Regions from separate parts of the Homo sapiens genome. Here all the other regions are linked to region 1. The links are contacts of gene promoters, found by promoter capture Hi-C in human tissues and cell types (Jung and others, 2019). All regions are on one chromosome and are shown on one strand. The core of a region is centred on a gene start or on the middle of the fragment in contact, and the rest is flanking DNA. Distances in the headings are between cores, read along the strand shown.

Evidence for each region. The method cuts DNA at HindIII sites, captures the fragments that hold promoters and counts their contacts. A contact is called where the count stands out against the background at its distance.
Region 2: a contact is called between a fragment that was not itself captured here and the fragment with the promoter of P2RX4 in region 1, in 2 of the 25 tissues and cell types used here (bladder and spleen).
Region 3: a fragment that was not itself captured here is called in contact with the fragment with the promoter of P2RX4 in region 1 in 1 of the 25 tissues and cell types used here (dorsolateral prefrontal cortex).
Region 4: a contact is called between the fragment with the promoter of COQ5 here and the fragment with the promoter of P2RX4 in region 1, in 2 of the 25 tissues and cell types used here (dorsolateral prefrontal cortex and mesenchymal stem cells).
Region 5: a contact is called between the fragment with the promoter of CABP1 here and the fragment with the promoter of P2RX4 in region 1, in 2 of the 25 tissues and cell types used here (dorsolateral prefrontal cortex and lymphoblastoid cells).

Annotation. Positions count from the first base shown.
Region 1 is chr12:121,208,708-121,211,504 of GRCh38, reverse strand. It overlaps P2RX4 (purinergic receptor P2X 4), which reads right to left and starts at 1,376. Exons shown (of 12, transcript NM_002560.3): 1 at 1,207-1,376. The coding sequence starts at 1,340. It overlaps LOC105370032 (a long non-coding RNA gene), which reads left to right and starts at 1,433. Exons shown (of 4, transcript XR_001749352.3): 1 at 1,433-1,656. RefSeq lists an enhancer at 551-600 and a silencer at 931-1,670. The HindIII fragment of the contact is 10,060 bases long and covers 1-2,797 here.
Region 2 is chr12:120,454,574-120,457,370 of GRCh38, reverse strand. It overlaps GATC (glutamyl-tRNA amidotransferase subunit C), which reads right to left. Exons shown (of 4, transcript NM_176818.3): 3 at 192-295. Among named protein-coding and RNA genes, the nearest start is that of GATC, 9.5 kb to the right of the region's middle. The HindIII fragment of the contact is 8,224 bases long and covers 1-2,797 here.
Region 3 is chr12:120,493,970-120,496,766 of GRCh38, reverse strand. It overlaps DYNLL1 (dynein light chain LC8-type 1), which reads right to left and starts at 654. Exons shown (of 3, transcript NM_003746.3): 1 at 551-654; 2 at 214-351. The coding sequence starts at 345. It overlaps NRAV (negative regulator of antiviral response), which reads left to right and starts at 821. Exons shown (of 2, transcript NR_038854.1): 1 at 821-944. RefSeq lists silencers at 251-770, 1,061-1,110 and an enhancer at 330-996. The HindIII fragment of the contact is 4,647 bases long and covers 1-2,797 here.
Region 4 is chr12:120,527,749-120,530,545 of GRCh38, reverse strand. It overlaps COQ5 (coenzyme Q5, methyltransferase), which reads left to right and starts at 1,388. Exons shown (of 7, transcript NM_032314.4): 1 at 1,388-1,606. The coding sequence starts at 1,405. RefSeq lists enhancers at 1,052-1,511, 858-1,627, 1,628-2,398. The HindIII fragment of the contact is 25,598 bases long and covers 1-2,797 here.
Region 5 is chr12:120,639,221-120,642,017 of GRCh38, reverse strand. CABP1 (calcium binding protein 1) reads right to left here and starts at 1,392. Exons shown (of 6, transcript NM_001033677.2): 1 at 679-1,392. The coding sequence starts at 1,332. CABP1-DT (CABP1 divergent transcript) reads left to right here and starts at 1,496. Exons shown (of 2, transcript NR_183426.1): 1 at 1,496-1,968. RefSeq lists silencers at 413-512, 733-902, 913-1,012, 1,233-1,532. The HindIII fragment of the contact is 37,846 bases long and covers 1-2,797 here.

The DNA.
Region 1 (2,797 bases), core at 127-2,626:
AATTGTAACAGGTGCCAGCCCCGCGTGGGGGCTCACGCCTGTAATCCCAGCATTTTGGGAGGCTGAGGTGGGCGGATCACCTGAGGTCAGTTCAGGACCAGCCTGAAACCCCGTCTCTACTAAAAAATACAAAAATTGGCCGGGCGTGGTGGCGGGCACTTGTAATCCCAGCCACTCAGGAGACTGAGACAGGAGAATTGCTTGAACCCGGGAGGCAGAGGTTGCAGTGAGCCGAGATCGTGCCATTGCACTCCAGCCCGGGCGACAAGAGAGAAATTCCGTCTCAAAAAAATAAAAAAATTAAAAAAGTAACAGGTGCCTTCAAGTACAATGGCACATTCAGCGAGGCCTGAGGGCGGTAGGGCATCTCTAGCCTAAGGGGGCAGCATGGGGAATGACTGACTAGGCTAGGGCAGGTACCACAAAAAGCCCCACAAGCCCAGAAAACAAAGGAAGCAAACTTTAAACACTCGCTACAGTCTGACCTCGCTACTACCACATAGTGACACCGCATAGTGATCAAAAGAAATGACCAAAAGCCACCCACCCAGAAGGAACCAAGCGGAAATTCCAAGCTTTGGTTTTGTCAGCAAATCAGCAGGATGGGAAGTGGAGAGCGAAGATTGAGACGTTCAGGGCGAAGCCCCTACAGCCAAGGGGCACTATGGGGGGTCAGGCAGGAGAGGGTAACAGCCTAGCCAGGCTTTGCCTTTATTTATTTTGTAAACAGACGGGTCTCGGACTGTCTCCCAGGCTCGAGTTAAGTGGTGTGATCATAGCTCACTGCAGCCTCAGCCTCTTGGGCTCAAGCGATCCTCCCACCTCAGCCTCCTGAGTAGCTGGGACCCCAGGCGCGCGCCACCAGGCCCGGATGATTTTTAATTTTTTGCAGAGACGGGGTCCCACGATGTTGCCCAAATTGGTTTCGAACTCCTGGGCTCAGGCGATGGTCCCGCCTCGGGCTCCCAAAGTGCTCGGATTACAGGCTTGCGCCACCGCGCCTGGCCCAGGCTGTGGTTTTAAAACAGCAGCAAGCAGCCTCCCGCCCCCGGGGCCCCGGCGCGGCGGCTGGGGCCCAGGGAAGGTGTCACCGCCTCGGCTCGCCGCTCCCGGACTCGCCCAGGTGACCGAGGCCAGGATGAGCCGCCGCACGGCGCGGACGCGAGGGCAGCACCCGCCGCGCCCCCCGCGCGGCCCCACGCTCACCCGATGACGTAGGCCAGGATGAGCAGTTGCACGGCGCGGTTCATGAGCCCCACTTTGCGGCTGCGGATGAGCACGATGCGCGGCGTGTCGTACTCGAACAGGAAGGCCGCCAGCGCGGCGCAGCAGCCCGCCATGGCCGCGCCGCCCGCTCCCAGTCCCCTAGTCGGTCTGGGTCCCAGTCCCCGCTCGGAGCCCCGCCCAGTCCGCCTGGCCTGCTGGCGGCGCCGTCATCGCGGAGGAGGGCCCGGAAGGAGGCAGCACGGGCGGTCGGGGCCCGGGGCCCGGGGGAGGGCGCCACCTCCCCGTCGGGAACGATGACCCTCTAGGGGGCATGGAACTCGCGGGGGGGGAGTGGCCTCGCCCTTGAGGACGAAAGGCTCCTTCAAAAGGCGGGCGAGGGGCCGGGGGCGGTGGCTCACACCTGTCATCCCAGCACTTGCGGAGGCCGAGGTGAGAGGAATCTTGAGTTAGAGACCAGCCTGGACAACATAGCGAGACCTCGTCTCTATCAAAAATACAAAAAAAAAAAAAAAAAAAAAAAAAAAGCGGGCGTAGTGGCGCTCGCCTGTAGTCCCAGGGAGGCTGAGGTGAGAGGATCGCTTGAGCCCAGGAGGTAGAGGCTGCCGTGTGAGCTGTGATCGCGCCACTGCACTCCAGTCTGGGAGATGAAGCGAGACCCTGCCTCAATAAACCAGAAACCAAAAAACAACAAAAAAGGCGAGTTGGGGAGTAATGACCTTCTCAGGAGGGCCAGAGAGAACAAGAGACCCTTTCGGGGAAGATGGGGTCCGCGAAGAGAGAGTGACCTCCCATTTGGGACAGAGTTCAAGTGAGGGGTAACGAGCGACCTCCCTTAGGGGTACTGATAGGTGCCAGGGATTTCCGTAGAGGACCCCGGGGCTGTGCGGAGTAGCCATCGCTCACGAGTGCGGGCTCCTAAACTTGGGCAGCTGTGGTTGGGGGAGCTGGGGCCGCGCTGTCCTTAGCCTCTTGGGGAACAGCCTAAATATCAGGTGTCCTGTGAGCCCTGGGTGAGAGCCACACGCCCTGTAAAATACCCCTCCTGGATTTGAAGCCTGGTCGCATTCTCACTCCAAATACTTCCTTAGTTGCAGCCCAGGGGAGATAATTCTGTGGTCATCCTTTCCACTGAGAAAATGCTATCACAACTTTAGGAGAGAAAATAGTGAAAGGGGGGGAAACAGCCACCGTTCTACCCCATGAATACAATTTTCCGCATGTGTATTTGTTCATTCCCTTCAGATACGTTTTTTCTTTTTCTTTTTCTTTTTTTTTTTGAGACGGAGTTTCACTCTTGTCCAGTCTGGAGTGCAGTGGCGCGATCTCGGCTCACTGTAACCTCCGCCTCCCAGGTTCAAGCAATTCTCCTGCCTCAGCCTCTTGAGTAGCTGGGATTACAAGTGCCCGCCACCACGCCCAGCTAATTTTTGTATTTTTATTAGAGACAGGTTTTCACCATGTTGGCCAGGCTGATCTCCAGCTCCTGACCTCCCATGATCCACCCGCCTCGGGCTCCCAAAGTGTTGGGATTACAGGCGTGAGCCACTGCGCCTGGCCCAGATGTGTTTTC
Region 2 (2,797 bases), core at 228-2,727, 750 kb after region 1:
TGTTCCTGTTACTAACTGCCCCCTAGAGGTGAGTATGACCCTGGACCCTACTGCCACCTTAATGCCACCATCTGTATGCACTTCATCCTTTTCAAAGTGCCTTCACATAGCATCTTTGGTCCTCATGCTTCCTGCTTCATTCCTAAGGTTACTGTGAGACTATCTGTTAAACCATTCTGGGCAGCACGTACCTGGGGGGGCCACAAAGTACTCCTCCACGACGCGATGGGAGTTTTGTAGTAATTCATCAGCACAGTTGCCTTCTACCACATTGTCGGATCTCAGGTATAGACATCTACAAAACCCAGAAGCTCAAGGTTACCCTCTCAGAGAAGGGGGCTTTTAGGGGATGATGGAGAGGGGCAAGAAGGAGAGAACAAGGAAGCAGTATATTCTTGAGTTAATGGGCACTGTTCAAAGATAGAGAAGCTGGGATCAACAGTAGACCAAATAACAGCCTACAGTTTATAGATTGACCGAACAACCCTGAGAAGTAAGTGCTAATTACTTCTCTGGATTGATTTAACAAATAGTTTTTGATGATTATATGGGCAACTGTCTTTTGGTGGGGACAGGTAAAAGCAATTACAAAAACAATATTTTAAATCTAACAGAGGTTAGTACAGCCTGCCAAAGGATAGAAAGGGTACCTAGTCCAGCCTGCGTGAGTAGCACATCCTCAGAATAGCTGATGTCACTGTTCAAGGATGGGCAAGAAATAGCTGGATTGGGGGATGAAGGTATGAGAAATGGACTTCCTGGCACGTATAGCAGCATGAATCCCAAAGCAATAGAGCCGAGAGCTCAGAGATTCAGAGAAGGACAGGGAGTTTAGCAGGCTGGGGTGTGGTCTGCCGGGGTGGAAGATGAAGCTGGAAAGCTAAGCAGAGATGGGGAAGCAAACTTGCCACAAGAGTAACTTAAGGATGTTGGCTGCTAAGTAACAACTGGGATCTCAGCCCAATCTGATACACCTAAAATGAATGCTTTTTCCACCACAGCCACTTTGGTGGATGTGCCTGCCCTTGAGCAAGATGTGCCACCAACAGCTCAAGAATCTCCCAGTGTTCTGTGGGACCTAGTGACTTTACTAAAGCCTTCAGATGGCAAACCGGTAAAAAACACACAAGAGCTTGAACATTTGCATGAGGCTTCACTATTGTTTCAAGGTGTAAAAGTGTGTAAGCCTGCTTCCAGATACTTAGATTAAAAAAATAAGCAGTCTGTTAAATCACTGATATGGTATTCGGTAGTAGCCACGCTCCTCCTGCTTTGAGTGGGCACAGACTGAGGGCAGACCCTAATGGCGTTTGAGTCATGTCAGAGAGGGACAAAGATGTGACAGGTACATCTGGGCTAAGGCTGCACATAAGAACTAAGTTGTCAGCCGGGCGCGGTGGCTCACGCCTGTAATCCCAGCACTTTGGGAGGCCGAGGTGGGCGGATCACGAGGTCAGGAGATCGAGACCATCCTGGCTAACACGGTGAAACCCCATCTCTACTAAAAATACAAAAAAATTAGCCGGGCGTGGTGGTGGGCGCCTGTAGACCCAGCTACTTGGGAGGCTGAGGCAGGAGAATGGCGTGAACCCGGGAGGCGGAGCTTGCAGTGAGCCGAGATCGCGCCACTGCACTCCAGCCTGGGCGACAGAGCGATACTCTGCCTCAAAAAAAAAGAGAACTAAGTTGTCACAATAAGATTATTTTAGGAAAGGACTAGTTCTTTTTTTGTGGCACCCAGCCCAAAGCTAGACACAACAAATATTTACTCATGGTATGAATATTAGAAAGTTGAAGTCTGTTACAGGACCTGGCACATTCTTAACTGTGTGGCCTTGAACAAGTATGATCTTTTCAGACATTAAATTTCTTGGAGGGGGGCGGCGGGGTGTGGGGGAGAAAGGCCAGGTGTGGTGGCTCTTGCATGTAATCCCAGCACTTTGGAAGGCTAAGGCGGGTGGATCACCTGAATTCAGGAGTTCAAGACCAGCCTGGGCAACGTGGGGAAACCACATCTCTACTAAAAATACAAAAACTAGCCAAGCGTGGTGGCACGCACGTGTGATCCCAACTACTCGGGAGGCTGAGGCGGGAGAATCGCCTGAACCCAGGAGGCGGAGGTTGCAGTGAGCTGAGATGGCACCACTGCACTCAAGCCTGGGCGACAGAGCAAGAAGAAAAAAAAAAAGGCCAGGCACAGTGGCTCAAGCCTGTAATCCCAGCACTTTGGGAGGCCAAAGCAGGTGGATCACCTGAGGTCAGGAGTTCGAGACCATCCAATATGGTGAAACCCTGTCTCTACTAAAAATATAAAAGTTAGCCGGGCATGGTGGTACATACCTGTAATCCCAGCTACCTGGGAGGCTGAGGCACAAGAATCACTTGAATGTAGGAAGCAGAGTTTGTAGTGAGCGGAGATCACACCACTGCACTCCAACCTGGGTGACAGAGTGAGACAGTGTCTCACACACACACACACAAAAGAGAGTTGTACTAGATTTTTTTTTTTTTTTGAATAACACAAGGACTGTATTCATTTAAGAAAACTTGGGAGAACAAAAGTAAAATAAAAATCATAATTATACTATTCAAAGGTAACCCTTGGACTTTCTGGAGTTTATAGTTTCTGTTGGACAGTATTAAAAAATGGCTAAGAGGCCGGGCGCGGTGCCTCATGCCTGTGATCCCAGCACTTTGGGAGACTGAGGCGGGCAGATCACGAGGTCAGGAGATCAAGACCATCCTGGCTGACAGGGTGAAACCCCGTCTCTACTAAAAATACAAAAAAAAAAAAATT
Region 3 (2,797 bases), core at 92-2,591, 710 kb after region 1:
GTAATTAAAAAAAAAAAAAAAAAAACTTCGGACGCCGGGGGTCTGGTCTTCTCCACAGGAGCGCAAAATGCATCTGCGTCCTTTCTGGAAGCTTCTACGCCCCAAGCCGCCAGCAGTATTCCCGGGACCTGTCAGGCGCCCTTAGGAAAGCAGGATCGGGGGGAAGGAACCCCCTGCTCCCGGCTGCGTATCGGCCCCCGCGCCCATCCTCACCTTCTTGATATGAGCCGCAATGTCCTTCTCTATGTTGTATTTCTCCAGCGCCTGAGTAGCGCACTCCACCGAGTCCTGTTGCATCTCTTCCGACATGTCCGCATTTTTGATCACGGCCTTTCGGTCGCACATGGTTACCTAGTGGGCAAGGCCTGGGGTAAGGGGTTGAGTTGGGCCGCGCCCCCCAGGCACTAACTGCCCCCACCCCGGCCGGCGCCACCACGGGACGACGCCCCCCACCCCACTTCTCAGGAAGCGCGGGCTACGCGGAGGGCTAAGTCCGGAGTGGGGCGAAATAAGGCAGCGAGGACACCCCCTGGCCCCCCGAGTTTCTCACCGTGGAGAAGGGGGCTGGCCGACTGCAACGGTCTCCTGGGGGAGGTGCTAGCACAGCTCAGGCCCGGCTAGAGATACCGTCGCTACCGAAACCGTGGCGCATCTAAGCAGCCCCACGCCAGCCGCCGCCGCCTAGTGCTCAGGCCCCGCCCTGCTCCCGCCGGCCCCGCCCCTCGCCGCGCGACCCTATTGGCTTGACGCAGCCCACGGCATTCTTCCATTGGTCCATTGACTCCATGGTTCCCTCAGGATCTTTCTCCTGCATTTTGTTGCAGACCACAATGCACCGCTCACGGCGTCGGTTGCCCGGGCAATGGGCCGCACGCTACGAGGCCCACACACCCAGAAGGTGGAGCCCCGGCCGGGTTACGAGGACCACCCAGCTGTCTGGAGAGGTAGGAAGGGAGCTTCTGCCGGGGCCAAGGGAAGTGATTCCAAATTCACGGAGGTTGTCCCAGGGTGTGTTCTCGAACAACAGTCTCTAGAAGTTGGTGGCCATTCCTGCCCCCACCCCCCCGCCCCCCCACCACGACAGGTCGCATGATCTCGCACCCCAGGTTAGCAGGATTACGACAGAGGTGGCCTCTCCCTTTACTGAAAGGGTATCTCTGAAGCAGGGCCGGCTTCGTGGGTAAACCAGCAGTGCAGTCTCACAGGAGGGACCCTTACGTTTTCATTTTGCACTGGGCCCCATTTGTAGTCGGTTCTGCTCTGAAATATTTAGGGGAGGGCATCCTCAGGATTGAGGGAGGGCTTCAAGGAGGGAGGGTGTTTCCTTACGAATTAAGGGATTATCCCCAAGAGTGGGGTCTCTGCCAAGCAATGCGGACATCCTTTAAGGGGTTGGGGATGGGGATCCGGGTGGATTTGGGAGTGTTGAGCCCCGGGGTTTTTGTCCAGGGTGAAGCTTCTTGCTCAGGTGAGGCAGTCTTTCCTGTGTGGGAGAGATTCTTGGTTGGGATTTATCTCTGAGGAGGAGGTATTCTAATGGACGAAAAAGCGGCCGTTAGAGAGATGACGTCCCCTCTGGCTTAGGGAGGAGACACGAAGTGGTTAAAAAAGCAAGATCTTGGGGGAGTTGAGGGACAAGTCAGATCTGGATTTAAATCCCAGCACTGTCATTTACTAGCTATTTGAATGTCTTCTTTAAGTAAAGGAGGACTAAATGTAAAAGGAAACCAGTTCATACGCTTGTTAGCAGTATTAAACATTTGAAGTTCTCTCAGCACAATGTGAGGCACATAGTAAATGATCAATGAATCTTATCAATAATTGTCAGTTTATACAACTATCCCAAAGGCCACAGCAAGGTTTTGAACAACCAGCTCTGAAATGCCTATAATGTATTTTTCGAACCTCCATAAATAAGTTATCAGGTTAATCATGTATCTGGAAGCTTCCTATTTACATTTCTACATTTTCCTCTGACCATCTACTCTCATTACTCCTTAAAACAATTTGTGGCTGGGCATGATGGCTCACACCTGTAATCCCAGCACTTTGAGAAGCCGAGTCAAGGGGATCGCTTGAGCTCAGTAGTTGGAGACCAGCCTGGGCAATATGGCCAAACCCCATCTCAAAAAATAAAAATAAAACAATTTGAGCAGAGGCACACAACTCCAGAAAGAAAAAGATGGGAATAGGCCGGGTGCGGTGGCTCATGCCTATAATCCCAGCACTTTGGGAGGCCGAGGCGGGTGGATGACCTGAGGTAAGGAGTTTGAGACCAGCCTGATCAACATGGAGAAACCCCATCTCTACTAAAAATACAAAATTAGCTGGGCATGGTGGCACGTGCCTGTAATCCCACCTACTCAGGAGGCTGAGGCAGGAGAATCACTTGAACCCGGGACACAGAGTCTGTAGTGAGCCGAGATCGCGCCATTGCACTCCAGCCTGGGCAACTCCGTCTCAAAAAAAAAAAAAAGGAAAAAAATGGCAATAATTAGAACCTTTTCAGGTTCAACATATGCATATCAATTAAATCAACAGCTTTTTCCAGTTCCATGTTTCTAATGATGAGATTCAGGGTTTGAGGAGTTATAATATTACTATAGTACCTCTCTTGAGGAAGAAATAGGTTGACAACAAGTGAGGACCCTGGAAATGCAAATGACACTAAAGTAAAGCCACGGTGACTCCACTAAGTAGAAACCCCAGGGAAATTTCCTAAATCATCCTCATGATTTTTTTCCATATCTACACTACACTACCCCTGTTATTATTTATTTAATTTTTACTATAATAA
Region 4 (2,797 bases), core at 139-2,638, 680 kb after region 1:
CAGTGGTGCAATCTCAGCTCACTGCAACCAGTGACTCCTGGGTTGAAGGGATTCTCCTGCTTCAACCTCCTGAATAGCTGGGACTACAGGTGTGCACCACCATGCCTGGCTGATTTTTGTATTTTAGTAGAGACGGGGTTTCACCATGTTAGCCATGCTGGTCTCGAACTCCTGACCTCATGCAATCCGCCCACCTCGGGCTCCCAAAGTGTTGGGATTACAGGCGTGAGCCACCGCACCCAGCCACTTAATTTCTTTTAACAAAGACATGAGAATTATGAATACATGGATGAATCATTTCGCCCTTGTATCCTTCCTTTTTTTTTTCTCATCACTATACCAACGAGGACCTTCTATCATTCTTAAAATAAAAGAGAAAGAAACAGAAATCCCAGCGCAGTACTTCCCAAACGAAAGCGGTTAGGTGTCCATCTGTCAGGCTATATTAAACCAGGAAGAGAATTTTCATTTCAAAACAGTTTCTTCTATTGGCGCTTTCTCCTCGTGAAATATTTACAGGAAACATACATTTAAAATGGAATGAAAGCAGAAACATACAGTAATCCAAGCAAAACTCAACAACGTCCGTTCTTTATTTTGCACAAGACGGTCTGCATTACCCTTGCCATTAAAAAAAGACTGAAAATCTGGGGCTGAAGTAAAACACCCATGACATGCCACCTGGAGCTAGGAATGTAGCTTTGTGTCAGCAGGAGACCAAGTGTGAGTGGTGGTTCTGGCTTGCTAAGTGGATACCAGAGCTTTCGTTCCCATTTATGAGCTTCCTAGGTTCATAAAACGGACAGAACAAAGAAGTCTGTCCTATGTTTATTTTTCAGAGTAGTGTAACATATGTTTCTCAAGAATGGTCTGCATCTTTAGCATCAGAATCGCCAGAGAAATTTGTTTAAATAGAGATTAAAGGGATATAGGTCAGATCAAAATCTCTGGTAGTTGGGGACCCAGGAATCTTCATTTTAAAACGTAAACCAAGTGATTCTTACGCTCAACAAAGTGTGCAGGAATTGGCCCGTGATCTTGGCTTTTTAACCACACCATGCCTCAATTTCCCCCTTCTGCACAAGACAACAAGAGTTCCTGGATATCTTGCGAGTTAGTACTTTTCTGCCTAGCCGGATTCAGAGACATGGCCGCTAAGAGGTGACCCGGGGCTCCCCTGAGATCCCCTGATTCCTGGTGAATTGTAAATTCAATTTGAGAAGAGAGAGAGGAAGGGATTTCCGATACTTAGAGACCACCCTTTGGATCCTAGAGATAATGCCGGCACAACTGTGTATCAGATTTCAGGGCGCGTTCGGCTAATAATGTTGCCGGCCAGCCGCCGTCGTTCGTGGAGTGACGCAACAAGGCGTACTCTCTGGCCGTTGTCACTCGACTACCAAGATGGCGGCCCCCGGGAGCTGTGCTCTATGGAGCTATTGCGGCCGTGGGTGGTCGCGGGCGATGCGGGGCTGCCAGCTCCTCGGGCTTCGTAGCTCTTGGCCCGGGGACCTACTAAGTGCTCGGCTCTTGTCCCAAGAGAAGCGGGCAGCGGAAACGCACTTTGGGTTTGAGACTGTGTCGGAAGAGGAGAAGGGGGGCAAAGGTGAAAGGGGCGAGAGGGCGGATGGGAGGGATCTGACCGTCCATGGTCTGGTTTCTTCTGGCCAGTTAGGGTTGATTTAACATCCAATTAGTTCCAGTGTTGTTGTCTGTGCAGTTATGATTTTTTTTTTTTTTGGAGACAGAATTTCGCTCTTGTTGCCCACACTGGAGTGCAATGGTCCGATCTTGGCTCACTGCAACCTCCGCCTCCCGGGTTCAAGCGATTCTCCTGCCTCAGCTTCCCGAGTAGCTGGGATTACAGGCGCCCGCCAGCACGCCCGGCTAACTTTTTTGTATTCTTACTAGAGATGGGGTTTCACCAGGCTGGTCTCGAACTCCTGACCTCAGGTGATTCGCCTGCCTCGGCCTCCCAAAGTGCTGGGATTACAGGCGTGAGCCACCGCGCCCAGCCAGACGCCCCCTTTTTAAAAGCAGAATACTGATGACTAAATCCCATCAACTGAGCGTTTGTGATGTGCCAGGCAACGTACAGACATTATTTTCAATTCTCATTTTCAACATTCCAGTAGTGGGTATTGTTATTACCATATTACACGTGAGGAAATTGAGACTTAAAGGTTAAGCAAGAAGTTGCCCAGTTGAACATATCAGTAAGTGGCGGAACCAGTATTCAAACCCAGTTTAATCTGAGTCTGAAGCCCCCGTTCTTTACCTCTAGAGAAAAATAGGGGTTTTTTTGGTTGTTTTTATTTATTTATTTATTTATTTATTTATTTTGAGACGGAGTTTCGCTCTTGTTGCCCAGGCTGGAGTGCAATGGCGCAATATGGGCTCACTGCAACCTCAGCCTCCTAGGTTCAAGCGATCCTCCTGCCTCAGCCTCCTGAGTAGCTGGGATTACAGGCATCTGCCACTGTGCCCTGCTAATTTTTGTATTTTCAGTAGAGACGGGGTTTCTTTTTTTTTTTTTTTTTTTTTTTTTTTTTTTTTTGAGACTGAGTCTCTCTCTGTCACCCCCAGGCTGGAAGGCAGTGGCGCGATCTCGGCTCACTGCAAGCTCCGCCTCCTGGCTTCACGCCATTCTCCTGCCTCAGCCTCCCGAGTAGCTGGGACTACAGGGGCCCGCCACCATGCCCGGCTAATTTTTTGTATTTTTTTTTTAGTACAGACAGGGTTTCACCATGTTAGCCAGGATGGTCTGGATCTCCTGACCTCGTGATCCACCTGCCTC
Region 5 (2,797 bases), core at 143-2,642, 570 kb after region 1:
AGGGAACCACTGATGACCTCTTTGTGGCCTTTCTCACCCTTCCAATGGCATCCCTAGAGTGACAGCCTCCTTAAACCACCCCAAAGTTCCAGTTTGAGCCACAGCTCTGCATGCCCCTCCATGCCTACCCAGACACCTCTTCTCTTTCCTCATATTTTTGGATCTCCTAACTTTTCTCAGGCCTTCAGGGACATGATAGGCAGTGGCCAGTGTCCCTCGCCCTCAAGTAATTCTGTGTTCTCTGAGGTCCCCTCTCTTGACCCCCAGACTCCAAACCGCTTGCTCTCCTGAGTCCCTCCCTGGCGGTACTGGCCAGAGGCCAGAGGAGTGGGTTTGGCGCCACCTGCTCGGAGCGCCCCTCCTTGACCCCCGCAAATCTCCAGGACGGTCGTAGAGGTCGCTCTCTTCCAGGACTGGCGGGTTCTGGCGGGTATGAGGGAGGCTAGCGGGGAGGGCCTTGCCCCAAGAGGCCCGGAGCGTGGACAGCGCACGGGGTGCTGAATCAGGCACGGGGAGGAGGAGTGCCGGCAAGGGCGCCGGCCCGGGGAGGACGAGGTGAGCCGAGGCGTGATCCGTGGGGGACCACGGGCCGCGGGAGGAGGCTGTGGACGCGCAACCGCGGCCGGCAGGGTCCCGAGCGCCTTTCCCGGGAGCGCTGACGGGAGGCGCGGCCCTTACCTGGCCAAAGGCGGAGCTGAGCATGGGGCGCAGCCGGTGGAGGAACGGGTCCGCCTCGGACGCGGCGGCTGGAACGGAGTCCCCGCGGCCCCGGGCTCGCAGAGAGCCCCGGAGGCCGAGCGCCGGGGACAGTCCCCGTTCCTCCCCATCCCGCCCGCGGGCCGGCGGCAGCGGCGACGACGGCGAAGGTCGGGACGCCGCGGCCGGCAGCGCCTCCCGGGGCCTGCAGTGCGCCTGGGGGAGCACACGCTGGCTCCCCCGCGCGCCCTCCTCTCGCGGCGCCGGCCGGCACAGGGGCCTCCGCGAACTGGGGTCCCCGGACGACTGCGGCGTCGCCGGGCAGGAGCCGGGTAGCCGGCGGCTAGGCAGCCCCGGGTCCCGGGCAGGGCCGTGGCGGGGAGCCCGGCTGCCCCCGCTCGCCGCCGCCGCCGCCGCCTTCAGCAGCGACGTCTTGGACTCGCTTTTGGCGATGTGCGAGCTCATCGCGGCGGGGCCCGCGCTCGCATGGCCCGGCGGGGGCGGCGCGGTGCGGCGCGGCGCGGGGCCCCCGGCGGGCAGAGAACGGGGCTCCCGGCGGGAGCCAAGCCCGAGGACGCGCTGGAGGCGGGCGCCGTCCCCCGGCCGCTTAAATGCGGCCCCGTCGCCGCCGCCCATGTGACAGCGCAGCCTCTACGCCCGGAGCCCGGAGCTCCCGGCGGCTGGCGGTGCAGATCTGGGGGCGCTGCCGGCTGTCCCCGGAGAGCCCACCCCCGGCTCCCTGGCGGCCCAGGTACCGCCGCGCCCCGCCCCTTGCCCCGCCCCGCCCTGGGGGAGCCCCGCTTCCGGGCGGCCCCTGGCGGCGAAGGGGACGCTGCAACGCGGAGCGGGAGCACGAGGAGGGAAGGGGCTTGGCAATGGGCCCCAAAGAGGCCGAGACCCCGGGAGTGCCGGCAGCGCTCTTTATCACGCCTGGAGGCTCCTGCAGAGCCCCGGAACCGCCCGAACCTCCAGAAATGCAGGCAGGGTGCACTCCCCAGGGGGTACAACTTTGGCAATGAGGACTACAGAGGTCCGGGGAGAACCGGAGACCCGAGGAGCATGAAGGCACTCTGTGACATCACTGCCTACAAACGCAGGGGCCGGAATGCAGTGACAGGACACTGCTGGGAGGAAAGTCTCCCAGCGCCTCCGTGTGGGGCTGCCTCCACTCCCAATACCGTGCGGGGGGACTAGGACGACCCTGGTAAGTCAGCCACAGGATATCAGTTCTCAGAATAGAAGAGAAGCCAGGTCTGGCAGCACCTGATGATGGTAAGTCTCAGGTAGGACCCATTTGCTCCCCCTCCAGCTCTTGTCCCCTCTTTCACCTTCCTGCCTTTCTAGATGCTACAGAAATTCCTGCTCTCGGTGGGCAGCCAGGGAGCGTCCCAGGCCTTATCTGAATCTCAAATCCCAGCTCTGCCACCTACCATCTGGGTAACTTGGGCAGGTGTCATCAACCTCTCTGAGCCTTGTTCTCCTCTTCTGTAAAATGCAGATGATAAGCATAACTAATTTCTTGGTAACAGCAGACGATACTATGCACACAAAAGGCCTAGCCCAGTGCTCGGACAGGGGACCATCCAGTTAAGCCAGTTCCCTTCCCCCTGCACATCGTGAGGCCCCATCTACCATTCTTCTTTAGTATCCGGTGCTTGAGCTTTGCGGGGGGCTGGAGGGGTTCCTCCCAGGCTCTCCCTGTTCTGGTCCCTGGCCCCAATGCCATCCACAGTCTTGTCACCGCTCGGCCTCATTAAAAGGATACACGAGGCCGGGCACAGTGGCTCGCACCTGTAATCCCAGCACTTTGGGAGGCCAAGACCGGCGGATCACTTGAGGTCAGGAGTTCGAGACCAGCCTGGCCAACATGGTGAAACCCTGTCTCTACTAAAAATACAAAAATTAGCCAGGCGTGGTGGTGGGCGCCTGTAATCCCAGCCACTTGTAGGCATGAGAATAACTTGAACCCGGGAAGTGAAAGTTGCAGTGAGCCGAGATTGGGTCACTACACTCCAGCCTGGGCAACAGAGTGAGACCCTGTCTCAAAAAAAAAAAAAAAAAAAAAAAAAAAGAAGGGTACACAAACAGATTGCCGATATTA